Linked DNA regions of Homo sapiens: regions 1 and 3 are each linked to region 2. Evidence: promoter capture Hi-C in 16 types of primary human blood cells and fetal thymus (Javierre and others, 2016). All regions are on one chromosome and are shown on one strand. The core of a region is centred on a gene start or on the middle of the fragment in contact, and the rest is flanking DNA. Distances in the headings are between cores, read along the strand shown.

The links. Contacts are between HindIII fragments. The CHiCAGO score rates a contact against its expected background, and 5 or more counts as called.
Region 1: a fragment that was not itself captured here is called in contact with the fragment with the promoter of MIR155HG in region 2 in 1 of 17 cell types (non-activated CD4 T cells); the score reaches 8.5 in non-activated CD4 T cells.
Region 3: a fragment that was not itself captured here is called in contact with the fragment with the promoter of MIR155HG in region 2 in 1 of 17 cell types (activated CD4 T cells); the score reaches 5.5 in activated CD4 T cells.

What each region holds. Positions count from the first base shown.
Region 1 is chr21:29,068,122-29,072,713 of GRCh38, reverse strand. It overlaps CCT8 (chaperonin containing TCP1 subunit 8), which reads left to right. Exons shown (of 15, transcript NM_006585.4): 2 at 2,377-2,467; 3 at 3,212-3,291. Among named protein-coding and RNA genes, the nearest start is that of CCT8, 3.2 kb to the left of the region's middle. The HindIII fragment of the contact is 1,679 bases long and covers 743-2,421 here.
Region 2 is chr21:25,559,581-25,564,073 of GRCh38, reverse strand. MIR155HG (MIR155 host gene) reads right to left here and starts at 1,929. Exons shown (of 3, transcript NR_001458.3): 1 at 1,817-1,929. RefSeq lists silencers at 1,585-1,864, 1,875-1,964 and an enhancer at 2,345-2,394. The HindIII fragment of the contact is 13,141 bases long and covers 1-4,493 here.
Region 3 is chr21:29,295,388-29,299,396 of GRCh38, reverse strand. It overlaps LOC105369299 (a long non-coding RNA gene), which reads left to right and starts at 661. Exons shown (of 2, transcript XR_937652.3): 1 at 661-2,791; 2 at 3,055-3,219. BACH1 (BTB domain and CNC homolog 1) reads right to left here and starts at 475. Exons shown (of 5, transcript NM_001186.4): 1 at 444-475. RefSeq lists a silencer at 41-950. The HindIII fragment of the contact is 468 bases long and covers 2,201-2,668 here.

The DNA.
Region 1 (4,592 bases), core at 333-2,832, 3.5 Mb before region 2:
CCTCCAGATTTTGTTAATTCAAGAAATAGATCAGTGTGGTTGAATTTAAGGTTTTATGCGAGGTACGGGGAGCATTAACAGTTTAATAGAACTAGGTTCATGTTTGTAGGATGCACTTTTCAAATAATGTCGGTATAGTAAGTAAATGTCAGGGTTCAAGGTAAATGTTGGTGGAATAATCTTTTGAAAATGATATGGGCTGATTCCCTTGAAAAAATCAGGCTGAGATAATAGCTTCCAATTTGGGTTTTTTTCACTAATACAGTTTTGGAAAACTCGTGTATCACAAAACATTATTTGTCATTCCAGTGCTAGTAGTTTTTTACAGAACACTGAGCTATTTCTTTCAATAAATAGGTACTGAAGGAACTGCAGTGAAAGACAAAAGTCCCATTTGTCGTAGAGTTTATGTCCTTCTAAGGCAGAAATAATGATTAAATAAAAGGAGAATTCCAAATAATGATGAAAGAAACTGCACTATAGTAGAGGATGACAGGAGGTAAAAATGTCTGTAAAAGAAGGATCAGGAATAGACAGAACACTTAGACGTTTAGGGAAGAACTCTTAGCTCAGTGCTTAGTGAGAGAAGCCCCTGAGCCTGGGCTGTTTCCCCCGACCTCTTACTTAGGGGGAAATGCCAGGCTCAGGGACTAACTAGTACAAAGACCCTGAGGAAGGAATGATTTTGACCTGTTTTTTTTTTAAAACAACAACAACAACAACAGGTTGTAGGGCTGAAGCTTACCAAAGAAAGGAAGAATGGTAAGTTCAGAGGAGGAGCCATACAAGGGCCGGGATACGTAGGGCCTTGTTTCCTTGAAAAGGGATTTGCATTTTATCCTAAGCTGGTTGGGAAACCATTGAAGGGTCTTAAGTATGGGAATGAGGGGATCTGATCAAATGGTAGTTTCTCACAGAATGGGGAGTGAGGGGAAGAAGCAAGAGTGTAAGCCAGGAGTTCAGACTTAAGTGTTATTGCTGGAATAACAGTTCTTATTGCTGAAGATGCTTTTAAAGCAGTGGCTATTGGCAGGGGTTGGTGGCTCACACCTGTAATCCCAACACTGGGGAGGCCGAGGTCAGTGGATCACTTGAGGCCAGGAGTTCCTGGCCAACATGGTGAAACTCCGCCTCTCAAAAAAATACAAAAAAAACCAACCTGGTGTGGCGCGCACCTCTAATCCCAGCTACTCAGGAGGCTGAGCCTCCAGAATTGCTTGAACCCGGGAGGCCCAGGTTGCAGTGAGCTGAGATCGTGCCACGATCTCAGCTCACTGCACTCCAGCCTGAGCGATAGAGGAGACTCTCTCTCTCTCAAAAAAGAGTAATGGCTATTAACCTTGGTTTTGGATCACAAAATCATGGCTTGTATTGTAAAGCAGTACTATGTAAATAGAACTTTTTGCAGTGCTGGACATACGCTGTATCAGCGCTGTCCAGTGTGATATTCACTACCCACATGTAGCTACTGGGCATTTGAACTGTGGCTCCTGCAATTGAGGAACTGAATTTTTTAATTTTAATTACTTGAAAGTTTATTTTGATTGCTTTCACTAGCCCCATGTATGTAGCTAGTGGCTACTGTATTGGGCAGCGCTTCTCTAAAGAAATGTTCTCATGCACAGTAGATTAGTGAAATATATCTGAGGACCCAAGTAAACCTCAACTCTAAAAAAGTCCAGTGTAGAATTTGTGAGAATTTTTAGTACCGTGAGCAGTTCGCTTTTCAATACATATACATTGGGATAATGTTGCAATTCAAAAAAAGTATTCAGTCTCTAAACACTTCAGTGGCACATACTTAAAGAACTTCTGGCTTTACAAAAGCCCAGATTCTAACACAATAAGAATATTCCACATTTCAACAGTTAGTTAGAAAATACTGATAAATTCTGGAAAGGTATTCTACTTGAAGTACCTCATACCCTTTCTCTAATTAGTCTTAGCATGGTTCCCTGTACTTTTCACTACTTTTAATAAAAAAAATTTTAAGTCTTTTGATGTGTAAGTAGGTACCTGCGGTCCCCCAAAATGTTATACTTTATTCATTCAACTAGAGAGGAAATGTATGCATCATTTATGAATATCAAATGCTGTGTTTTACATTAAAAAATCTTGTTTGATTGTCTCAACAATCCTATGAGTTAGGTACTATTATAATTACTTCATTTTATAATGAAGAAATGTTAAGAAAATTGCCCAAATTTAAAAAGAGCCAGAAAGCTAAGATTTGCAACCAGCCCTCTTGTGCCAAATACCTAAGCTATGCTCCCTCTTTATTAGAGGCAAGATATAAGCAAAGATATCTTGTATTTGAAATTTTTGTTTCACTGTCCTGTCTAATTAGCGGGGTTTTTTGTTTGTTTTTTTTAACAGCACTTTTCAGGATTAGAAGAGGCTGTGTATAGAAACATACAAGCTTGCAAGGAGCTTGCCCAAACCACTCGTACAGCATATGGACCAAATGGTAATTTCTAAATTAATATTTGTAAAGATACAGTAGTAGAATATTGTGTACTACGTCTTCTTTCAGACTTGTTCTGAGGATGTTATGGTATGACTTCGGAAGTTAATTTGATAGCTCAATGATAGTTCATTTCCAATTTTTAGTTATTTCTAATTTTCAATCAACTCACATCTCTTTAGAAAAATGGGGGTCAATATATTACTTTTTATCCTGTTGAGAGGATAGAAAAATTATAACACTTTGACTAGTAAGATAGTACCTAATGTTCATTCTGACAAACACTAAATATAAAAGTGACATAGTTTAAGGAAGAAAATTCTCTCCTTCCTCTTGCCTTCTACCACCAATTAAATTTAAATGATACAGTTTCATGGAATAAACATACAACTAAATATACTAAGTAGATTATTTTGGCCTTTTTACATGTTAATTTCTGTTGAGCACTTGCTGCATGACAGTCATGTTGCAAACAGAAGATAGAAATTGGCAAAAATGTGAGATTTGGCATCTTACGTAGTAAATATTGTAGGACATTAGAAAGGGAAGAAAGAATATGGGTCTGCAGTCAGAGAATGCCCATGGGGCTATAAGATAAACTTGAAGAATAGATAGTATGTGTTTTCTTGCAAAGCTCTTTTTTTAATATACAAATTTATAATTTCTTAACTAGATTTTCCTGGGTATTTGGGGAAGGATTTGATTAATAATGGCTTTCTTTTTCTTTTTTTAACTGTTACTTTTGAGGAATGAACAAAATGGTTATCAACCACTTGGAGAAGTTGTTTGTGACAAACGATGCAGCAACTATTTTAAGAGAACTAGAAGTAAGTTGTTTCTTTAAAAAGTCAAGAAATATTTTGGTGACATCAAAATTAAGTAGATTTTAACTAGAAGAAATCTCTTATTTCAGATTGGATAAGGGACTATTTTTCCAGCTTGAAAATTTATTGTACAGATTGTTCTAATTATAAAGAGTCCTCTTTAGATTGAATGTTTTAGCCACTGAAATCTTAAAAATCTCTCAAGTTATTAATTTATGGAGGGATTGGTTGTGATACATTGCTAATTACGATATGAAATTGATTACCATTGTCTTCATTCTATAGGGTGACTCTGAAGTGAATTATTCCACAGTGCAAAAACGTATACATATAACAGTGGTTTTTAAAAAGATCCAACCATTTGGTTTTGTGAAAATAAAAACAATCAGTTGATGGCATTTTACTTTGTTCAGCTTTAGTTTTACTATTAGAATCTATAAAATAGATACTGCCTGCCAGCAGGGTTATAAGGAAGGTCTGGCACCTGAACAGGCAGAGAGAGCCATTCCTCATTCCCGCCTTGTAATTAAAGGATAACATATTCAACCTCAGGGAATTTTCCTGAAGCTTAGCCCTTGAAAGCACTAGAACTTAATCTTTTGTTTTAAATGAAACGATAGAAGAATCAACATTTTTCTAACCTCTTAAATAATATATTTTTGGTTGGACGCGGTGGCTCACGCCTGTAATCCCACCACTTTGGGAGGTCAAGGCAGGCGGATCACCTAAGGTCAGGAGTTTGAGACTAGCCTGGCCAACATGGTGAAACCCCATCTCTACTAAAAATACAGAAACAAAATCAGCCGGGCGTGGTGGCACACACCTGTAGTTCCAGCTACTCAGTAGGCTAGGGCAGGAGAATTGCTTGAACCTGGGAGGCGGAGGTTGCAATGAGCCAAGATCGCGCCACTGCACTCCAGCCTGGGCGACAGAGCAAGACTCCATCTCAAAAAAGAAAAAAAAATACATATTATATATATAAATTCTTAAAGAACTTAAGTTAAAAGTTAAATTTTAACTCCACAAAACACTTGTACAAGGGTTTGTCACTGTGAATGTTAATGTTGCACACTGATGATCTCAGGAGTTATTAAAGTACAGTGGTGATACCGTCAAAATAATAAAATCACAGGGCTGACTTTTTATAGTTTTCTTGTTGCTCTCAGTTCTTACTCCTTGGCTTGTTTCTGTAAAGGTATCTAAAATTAAATCCTAAGAATAAAATCCACATAAAATTATGTTATATTTGAAGAAAAGTTTTATACTCCCCCTTTTCTTTAAATCACAAATGATAACCCTTACAA
Region 2 (4,493 bases), core at 680-3,179:
CTCTAACTTTCTGGGTTTGTAAGGGTAGGGTTGTGCCTATCCTGCTCACCTTTGTCTCTCCAGTGTCTAGCATAGCGTCCAGCACAGGCAGACTATGATGCCTGTTTTTTTTTTGTTGTTGTTTTTTTTTTTTTTTTTTTGGTAAAGACCAGTGAATTACACTTTTTACACATGACTAGGTTAAAACAAAAGTAGACATTTGTGCAAACACCACTGTTCTCCCTTGAAGTGGTTGTAGGTCTCAGACAGTGCTAATTTTTCTCTTTCTTAATGTGTGTGGTTAGGAAGCTGGGTCCTGTGGCCAGAGTGAGCTGACCCACTATGTGAGGAAACTTACTTATCACAGCCTAATAAGGAGTAGTCCTTGCAGCAGAAGTAATTACTAAATGTGCTTTGGTCATTTGACAGAAATCAGGGAGGCAGCAAGGAGTCATGGAAATGAGCCCAAACTGAGAGTCAAAACCCTGTGGTCTGCCGACACCCCCATCCCACATCCGTACCTAAAAGCAGGCTGTGCACTAGGGACCTAGTGACCTTACTAGAAAAAACTCAAATTCTCTGAGCCACAAGTCCTCATGGGCAAAATGTAGATACCACCACCTAACCCTGCCAATTTCCTATCATTGTGACTATCAAATTAAACCACAGGCAGGAAGTTGCCTTGAAAACTTTTTATAGTGTATATTACTGTTCACATAGATAAGCAATTAACTTTACATATACCCGTTTTTAAAAGATCAGTCCTGTGATTAAAAGTCTGGCTGCCCTAATTCACTTCGATTATACATTAGGTTAAAGCCATATAAAAGAGGCACTACGTCTTCGGAGAGATGAATGGATATTACAAGCAGTAATTTTGGCTTTGGAATATACACATAATGTCCACTTGACCTCATCTATTTGACACAAAATGTAAACTAAATTATGAGCATCATTAGATACCTTGGCCTTTTCAAATCACACAGGGTCCTAGATCTGCTGTGTGATGCTGGAAAAGTAACTTCACTTCTGTGGGCCTCAGCTCCTTAATTTTTAACATACTTTGGATTCTTATATCTTTGTCAGCTGTCAACTTCAGTGTTTTCAGGTTAAATTCTATCCATAGTCATCCCAATATACCTGCTTTAGATGATACAAACTTCAAAAGATCCGGCTCTCCCTCGTAAAACGTGGAGGACAGACATCAAGGGGGTTTTGTGAGTAAAGAAAGGCAACCGCTCGGCAAAAACGCACCCTGGCACAACAGGAGCGAATAAATACAGACGCTGATTGAGCGTTTGCTCCATCTTCACTTCTGTTAAATGAAGACATTGATATCTAAAATGCTATGAGTCTAACTTTGTAAAATTAAAATAGATTTGTAGTTATTTTTCAAAATGAAATCGAAAAGATACAAGTTTTGAAGGCAGTCTCTTTTTCCACCCTGCCCCTCTAGTGTGTTTTACACACTTCTCTGGCCACTCCAACAGGGAAGCTGGTCCAGGGCCATTATACAGGTACGTCCCCAACCATCCAAGGAAACTTTGCAAAGAAGCTCAAGTATTAGGTTTCGAACACCCCTCCTTCCCCCTGCCTCTGCCCGCGGGAATCCATCCAGCGCAATCTCTGGTCCCGGGCGAGGCGACACCACTGAGTCCCCAGGGGGCACCCGCAGGCGCGCGCGGGACCAGGCCGGGCTCCACGGCCACGTGCGCGCTGCCCCCGCCTTGCCTCGCCAGTTAACCCGGCGGTGACCCTCGCACCGAAGTCCCCCGGCGTCCCTGCCACGTTCAAGAGAGGAAAGGCGGGCGGGAGCGCGAGACTGAAGTCGGCGTACCTGCAGTGCCAGGAGCGTCTCCTTGGTTCCCCGCGCTTGCTCTGCGGGCGGCTCGGGGCTCCGCTATCCGCTCCCTTCCCGAGGCTGCAGGCGGCGCTGGGCCCGGGCTCGGCCGCGCACAGGAAGCCCGCGCCTGCGAACGTGCGACCCTTTTATAACTCACTTGTGACTCATAACCGACCAGGCGCCTTTTCTGCAACCCCCCCCCCCTTCTCCCCCCTCCTGCCTGTTCTTGGAACCTACAGCTTGAAAAACTTTTTTCTTTTTAAAGGAAAAGTCGAAAAAGCCCAGCGCCCGGGTAGTTGGTGTTTTCCCCTTTCCCTTTCTCGTGGGTCATTGCGTGTGTGTATTTTTTTTCTCTCAACACACGCCGTGTACTTTCCTGCACCGCGCCGCAAGGCTTGGGCTCCAACCTTTGTTCTTAAAGAAAAGGAAACGCCTTCAAATGACGGCCCAGACGTCGCCCGAACTTTCAGTCGGCTGGAGGGGGAAGTGGCGACTTCTTGCAACTGGGTGGCAGGAGTGTCTCTACTCTCTCCTTGCAGGGAGCCCGAGAGGAGCAAGTGGGAGGTTTTTCCTCCTGGACCGAATCAGCTGGAGACCAGCAGGTCCCTAAGAGAGGAAGAAATGGTCTTCAGGCGATCCTGGATTTCATCCCTACCTCATCACCCTTCAAGAGCCCGCGTTTGGTTTGGAATACGTAACTGGGCTTTGAGAACGTTTGTACTGTGTCTGGTACCCGCATTTATACTCGGGATGTCAAGATATAGGACTTAAAACTTCAAAAATTTTGACCTCAACAACATTCTCCCCCTGCCCTCCACTCCCATCTCCAGGACATATTCCTGGAGCATATGGGACTTCGGTCGTTTTAATTTTTGGTTTTGTCGCTTCTCTCTTTTCTCCCGGACCCTGCCACAAGGGGAACATTTTCCTGGAGCAGCCATTTGATTTTGGGGGATGGAAAGGAACAAATAGATCTAAAGCCTGGCAAGTTTATCCTACAAGCCTAGTCGAGTAACTCATTCATGGGTCTCAGTTCAATAAACGTTTAGACTTGAAGAAGAATAAGGAAATATGGGGAAGAGAAGGAGGACAGGAATAGATCTAGCCTCATCAACATGTGACTGGGGCCTTTTTGTAAGAAAGACGGGGCCACTGCTGGATTGCATTGCAAGTATCCAGTACTTGGACCTCCCTGTCAAGGGCACAAGACATTTTAGAATAGTTTGTATTAAACTGATGCCAGTTACATGTCAGAATACATGTCAGAGCTGGAAATCCCATAGTACTTAATTTACAGATGGCTCAGGTTGGTTAAGGAACTTGGGAGCATTTTAAAACCCTCTATTCTTAAGATACATGCTTTTTCTCTTATAATTCAAACAAGAATAATCATGATGATAACAACTAACACTTATAAAGCATTTACCATGTGCCAGATCCTGTCCTAACACTCCTTATATGCATTAACTCTTTCAGTCCTCACTATGATCATATGAGGGAGGAGCATTATAATCTCTATTTCCAGATGAGGAAACTGAGCACAGAGAGATTAAACATGTTACCTTAGATCCTAGTAAGTAGTCAAGCTGAGATTCAAACTCAGTTCCAACCCTGGAGGGCTGGCTCCGTAGTCCAGTCTCCCTGCTTTCCAGATCCATGTGACGTTGAGGAGCTGGGGAAGTTGTGCAGTGGGGCATGTGGCAAGGATGCATGGTCCCCACCCAGGTGGGGCACGTCCCTCTGCTGGTTACAGATGCCTACAATGCCTTTCTGAATTTCCCATTTCTCATTCTAGGTTGAACTATAAGAAATTGCCCATAGGCAATTCTAGGGTGACCTTTCATCCCCAGAATGACAAGTTTGTATAATGCACTTTAATAGAAACAGGAAATTGCTCAATCCTCCCTTCTCCCAGTGGTGGAAGTAATTTCAGGTCATGTGCAAACCTCCGCATTTTAGGTCCCAGTTTGAGACACCCAGAATAGTGGATGGATAAATGGGTTTTAGGAGTCAAATACACCTGCATTTTACACTAATTCTAGCTGTGGAATCTGAACGTTAAACTTTTTATGTCTCAGCTTCCTGTAAATGACAATAATGATGTCTCCCATCAGGGATTACTATAGACTGAATCATGTTCTCTTCAACTTTATATGTTGAAGCCCTGATCCCCAATGTTATCCCCATTTGGAGATAGGGCCTGTGAGGAGGTGATAAAGGTTAAATGAGGTCAAAAGGGTGGATCACTAATCCCATAGAGCTAGTGCTCTTATGAGAAGAGGAAGAGACACCAGAATTCCCTTTCTCTCAGAAATCAGTCAAAGCAGAGGTCATGTGAGCACACAATGGGATGGTGGTTTCCTGTAAGCCAGGAAGAGAGTCCTCACCAGAAACCGAACCCTGCAGGACCTTGATCTGGAACTTTCTAGCCTCCAGAATGTGAGAAAATAAATTGTTGTTGTATCAGCCATCCAGTCTATGGTATTTTCTTATGGCAACCCTAGCAGACTAAGAGGGATATGATGATTAAATAAGGTGATGGATAAAAAGTACCTGCTCCAGGCCAGGCGCGGTGGCTCATCCTGTAATCCCAGCACTTTGGGAGGCTGAGGTGACTGGATCATGAGGTCAGGAGATTGAGACCATCCTGGCTAGAATGGTGAAACCCTGA
Region 3 (4,009 bases), core at 1,185-3,684, 3.7 Mb before region 2:
GGGAGGCGGCGGAGGACAATACGGGGCCCCAGCCGCGAGGGCGGTGCTGATGTGTCACAGCCCGGGCGGGCCGCGGGCGAGGGGCCGGGCTGGCGCCCGAGGGCAGGGAGGGGGGTGGGGCAGGGACCCCGCGGCCCCCAGCCCCCGCCCGCCCCGGGTAAAGTACGGCGCGCGCGGGTAAACAACAGCTCCGGCAGTGCAGGGGGTTCGGCCGCCGACGGGACGCCCCTTCCGGCGTCGCGGCCACTTCCAGGATCCCGGCCGCCGGCGCCCCCCGCGGGCCCCGATACGTGCCCCCCGCGCCCCGCCCAGCCCAGAAAGAGCCGCCCCCGGCCCGCCCGCGCCTTCACTGGACCTGTCCGCCGGCCTCCCCTCACAGGCCCGCGGCCCTGACCGCGCCAACCCTCCCGGAGAAGGGCCGGCGGGACGGCCGAGCCACTCACCAGAGCTGAGGCGCGGCGCGGCCCGACTGACTGAAGCGAGAGCGCCCGGCGGGCGGCGAGGGCAGCGGTCAGGTGACTCACTCCTTCCGCGCGGCCAGCCGCCCCCTCCCTTCTGCGCCGCTCTGCTGCCGCCACCTCGCGGCGCCAAAACCCCGCCCGCCCGCTGAAGGCCCCGCCCCCGGCGCCGAAGCCCCGCCCTGCCGCCCTCGAAGCCTCTGTCAGCGAACGAGCGCGCGCAATAGCGCGGGGCAGGGGTCGCCGCGGCCGGAAGCCCACGCGGGGGGTTGCAGGGACGGGTCGTAAGGGGCGGGGCGGGCCTCGAGGAGGCGGCGGTGGGGTCCCCGGACCTCCGCGCGTGGCACAGCCCGCATCCTGAACTGACTCCCACTCGAGGACCACCTCTCCTCTCCCTTCTGAGGGCGGAACGGAAAGGCCAAGCGCCTCCTCGCCTCGGGAGCTGCAGGACGCCCTAATTCAGCCGAGTCGCCGCGTGCCCGGGTGCCCGCGAACAGCAGGAGAGAGGACGGGCGCTGGCCCCACAGGGGTCGCTTTACCCCTTGAAGAGCTCCTCGCTGCCTGCCCTGGGGGTGGTGGGCGTCCAGGTTCACAGGGTACTTGAGCTTGCTGGGGTGGGGGTGTGTATGAAGTGCGTCCAGGGTTTTGTGGAGCGCGTCTAGCAGTTGCTCTACTTCTTACTGACAGTGAAACAAGGGCGCCCACGACAGGTGTTCCCTTTTCGCTGTCGCTGCCAGGAAGCTTCCAGCCAGGTTCAGCGCCCAGTGGTGTCAGCCGGCCCATCTCGAGCCTTGGTTCCGCTGTCATCTTCTGGTGCTTATTCTGGTGTTTATCCAACTGTCCGTTTTGAAATTATGTTCCCAAGCCATTTAACACCTCTGGAGAACCAAAGCACTGGCTGTCAGCGGAGCGGGATGCACGCGCAGCGGAGGGGACTGGGCACGCCAACCCCACGAGGGTTCCTGCGGAGATGACACGGACCTTGAGGTCTGAAGCCAAAGGACGATTTGTGTGAAGGGATTTTATTGTTAGCTTTGGAGCCAGCAACAAGAACACAGCCCTGGAGTTCCCGGGGCAAAAAGGATACCAAGATAATAATTCAGGTATTACGACTAACATGACTGCATTTGCACCCACAGGCTGTGGGACTTGGGGACGTTTGAGCTACATCCAAAATACATGAGAAAATCACACAAGTGAAATTGGATGAGAGTGCGAGGGGTGAAGTGATACATTATGACCTAGAATTAGGGGAGGCTTCCTGGAGCAGGTGACATTTGCATTGGGTCTTGATTGGGAAGAGTGGAACCCAGCAGTCTAGATAGGGTCCAGAGGTAGGAGGTACCTCGCATCCCAGGCTGCCTCAGTTCATGGTGAGAGTGCAGATATTTAGTGAAACAGGAGGAAAGGACACTTGGAAATACACCATGAAAGAAGGATTGAAGTTCTTGCAGACACATGGGAGTGTCCGAGGCTTTATTCTCCTTCCACCTTGAGCCAGTGGAATTGCAGTGTCTTTTTTCTACACCTATGCAGTTTTTTCTACACCTGTGCAGTTTTTTCTAGGGGAAGATCAGACCCTCCTCTTTGGGAGGAACTCTTGCTTCTTTAGATAATAGCAGTGACATTTTCTAGCCTGAAAATTATGATGTATGCCCTGATAGGTTTAATTATTTGAGAAGTTCTCACAAAGGTATACAGATGTGCTAAGAGTATCAAGTCAAGTGAGTGACTCTCAAGCTTCATTATGGGGAAGAATATTTGGTTTGCTTGTTAAAATGCAGATTCCGGCCGGGAGCAGTGGCTCATGCCTGTAATCCCAGCACTTTCAAAGGCCAAGGCGGGCGGATCACGAGGTCAGGAGATCGACATGGTGAAACCCCGTTTCTACTAAACCCCAACATGGTGAAACCCCGTTTCTACTAAAATACAAAAAATTAGCCAGGCATGATGGTGTGCGCCTGTAGTCCCAGCCGCTCAGGAGGCTGACACAGGGGAATCGCTTGAACCTGGGCGGTGGAGGTTGCAGTGAGCTGAGATCGCGCCACTGCACTCCAGCCTGGCGACAGAGCAAAACTCTATCTCAAAAAAAAAAAAAAAAAAAAAAATGCAGATTCCTGGGTCCCACCCCCAAAAGATGCTAATTTTGTAGATCTGAGTAGGACCTAAGGGTCTGCATTTTTAATACTGAAGCATGTGGTCTTCAAGCTTATGGCATGTAGTAGGGACAGGACGAAAAATGAAACTGGAGAATGAAATGAAACCGAGTCAGTATGAGAAGGGCCTCATGCACAGCACCTGGAGTTTGGACTTCATCCCGTGGTCTGCAATAAGTGAGTAGAGGTTTCTAAGTCATGTGGTTATTTTTAAAAGCTAATTCTAGTATTGAGAAGGAATGGGAGTGGAAACAGATAGTAGGTTGAATGAAGGAATGAATGCAGTAAAATGCTCAGTGAAAGATGTGGCACTTTTTGTTTTCAGTATTCTCTTGCTTTGAACCAAAACCACTTAGAATGTATTTCTTTTAAAACCTGTATGTCAGTGTAAATATTCACAAACAACTGTATGTTCTGACCTATGTCTTCTGGACTTCCAGAGTTAGCATTAACATTATTAGCTGCCAGGCCAACAAAACCTTGAGTAATCCTGCAATACTCGGAATCAAGAAAAGTGGCTACATCATGGTCAACTTTGAAGAACATCAGCCTCAAGATCTTTTATACTAACTCATATGTTTATTAAAATCTATTACTAAAACAGATTTTTAAAAATTATCTTGAGGTTATAATGAGACATAGTGCTTCTACCTAATTCCTATTGGGAAAAAAAAATGTTGAGATTTGGGGACCAAGAAAAAAAATTCTGATCGCTTTTTTTTTTTTTTTTTTTGAGATGGTGTCTCTCTCTGTCACGCAGGCTTGGAGTGCAGTGGCATGATTTTGTCTCACTGCAACCTCTGCCTCCCGGGTTCAAGTGATTCTCCTGCCCCAGCCTCCTGAGTAGCTGGAATTTCAGGCACCCACCACCAAGCCCAGCTAATTTTTGTATTTTTAGTAGAGACAAGGTTTCACCATGTTGGCCAGGCTGATCTCAAACTCCTGACCTCAAATGATCCACCTGCCTTGGCCTCCCAGAGTGCTGGGACTACAGGCATGAGCCACCGCTCCCAGCTGATTGCTTTCAATTAGTATTGATAATAGTTTGAAACTGGGACAAGTAGCCTAGTCTTGGCAGTCTTTCTGCTCCTTAGCTCAGCTAGGTCCAAGTTCTTGTCTCACAACCAGGAAAAACTAGGCACACAGACACCGGAAAGTGAGTGGAGTGGAATTGATTAAGCAAAAGGAAAGCTCTCAGCAAAGAGCGAATGCTGGGAGCAGTTCCCCTACCCGAAAGTGGGAAAATCCCCTCTCATGTGGCTGAGCCTGGGGCTTTTATGCACTCAGAATGGGGAGTGCATGCTGATTGGTTTGTGAGTTTGCAAAAAAAGGTTAAAGCAAAGACACCACTCAAAGGCAGGCACGACAGTGTAGAAAACCAATTAGAAAGGGTAA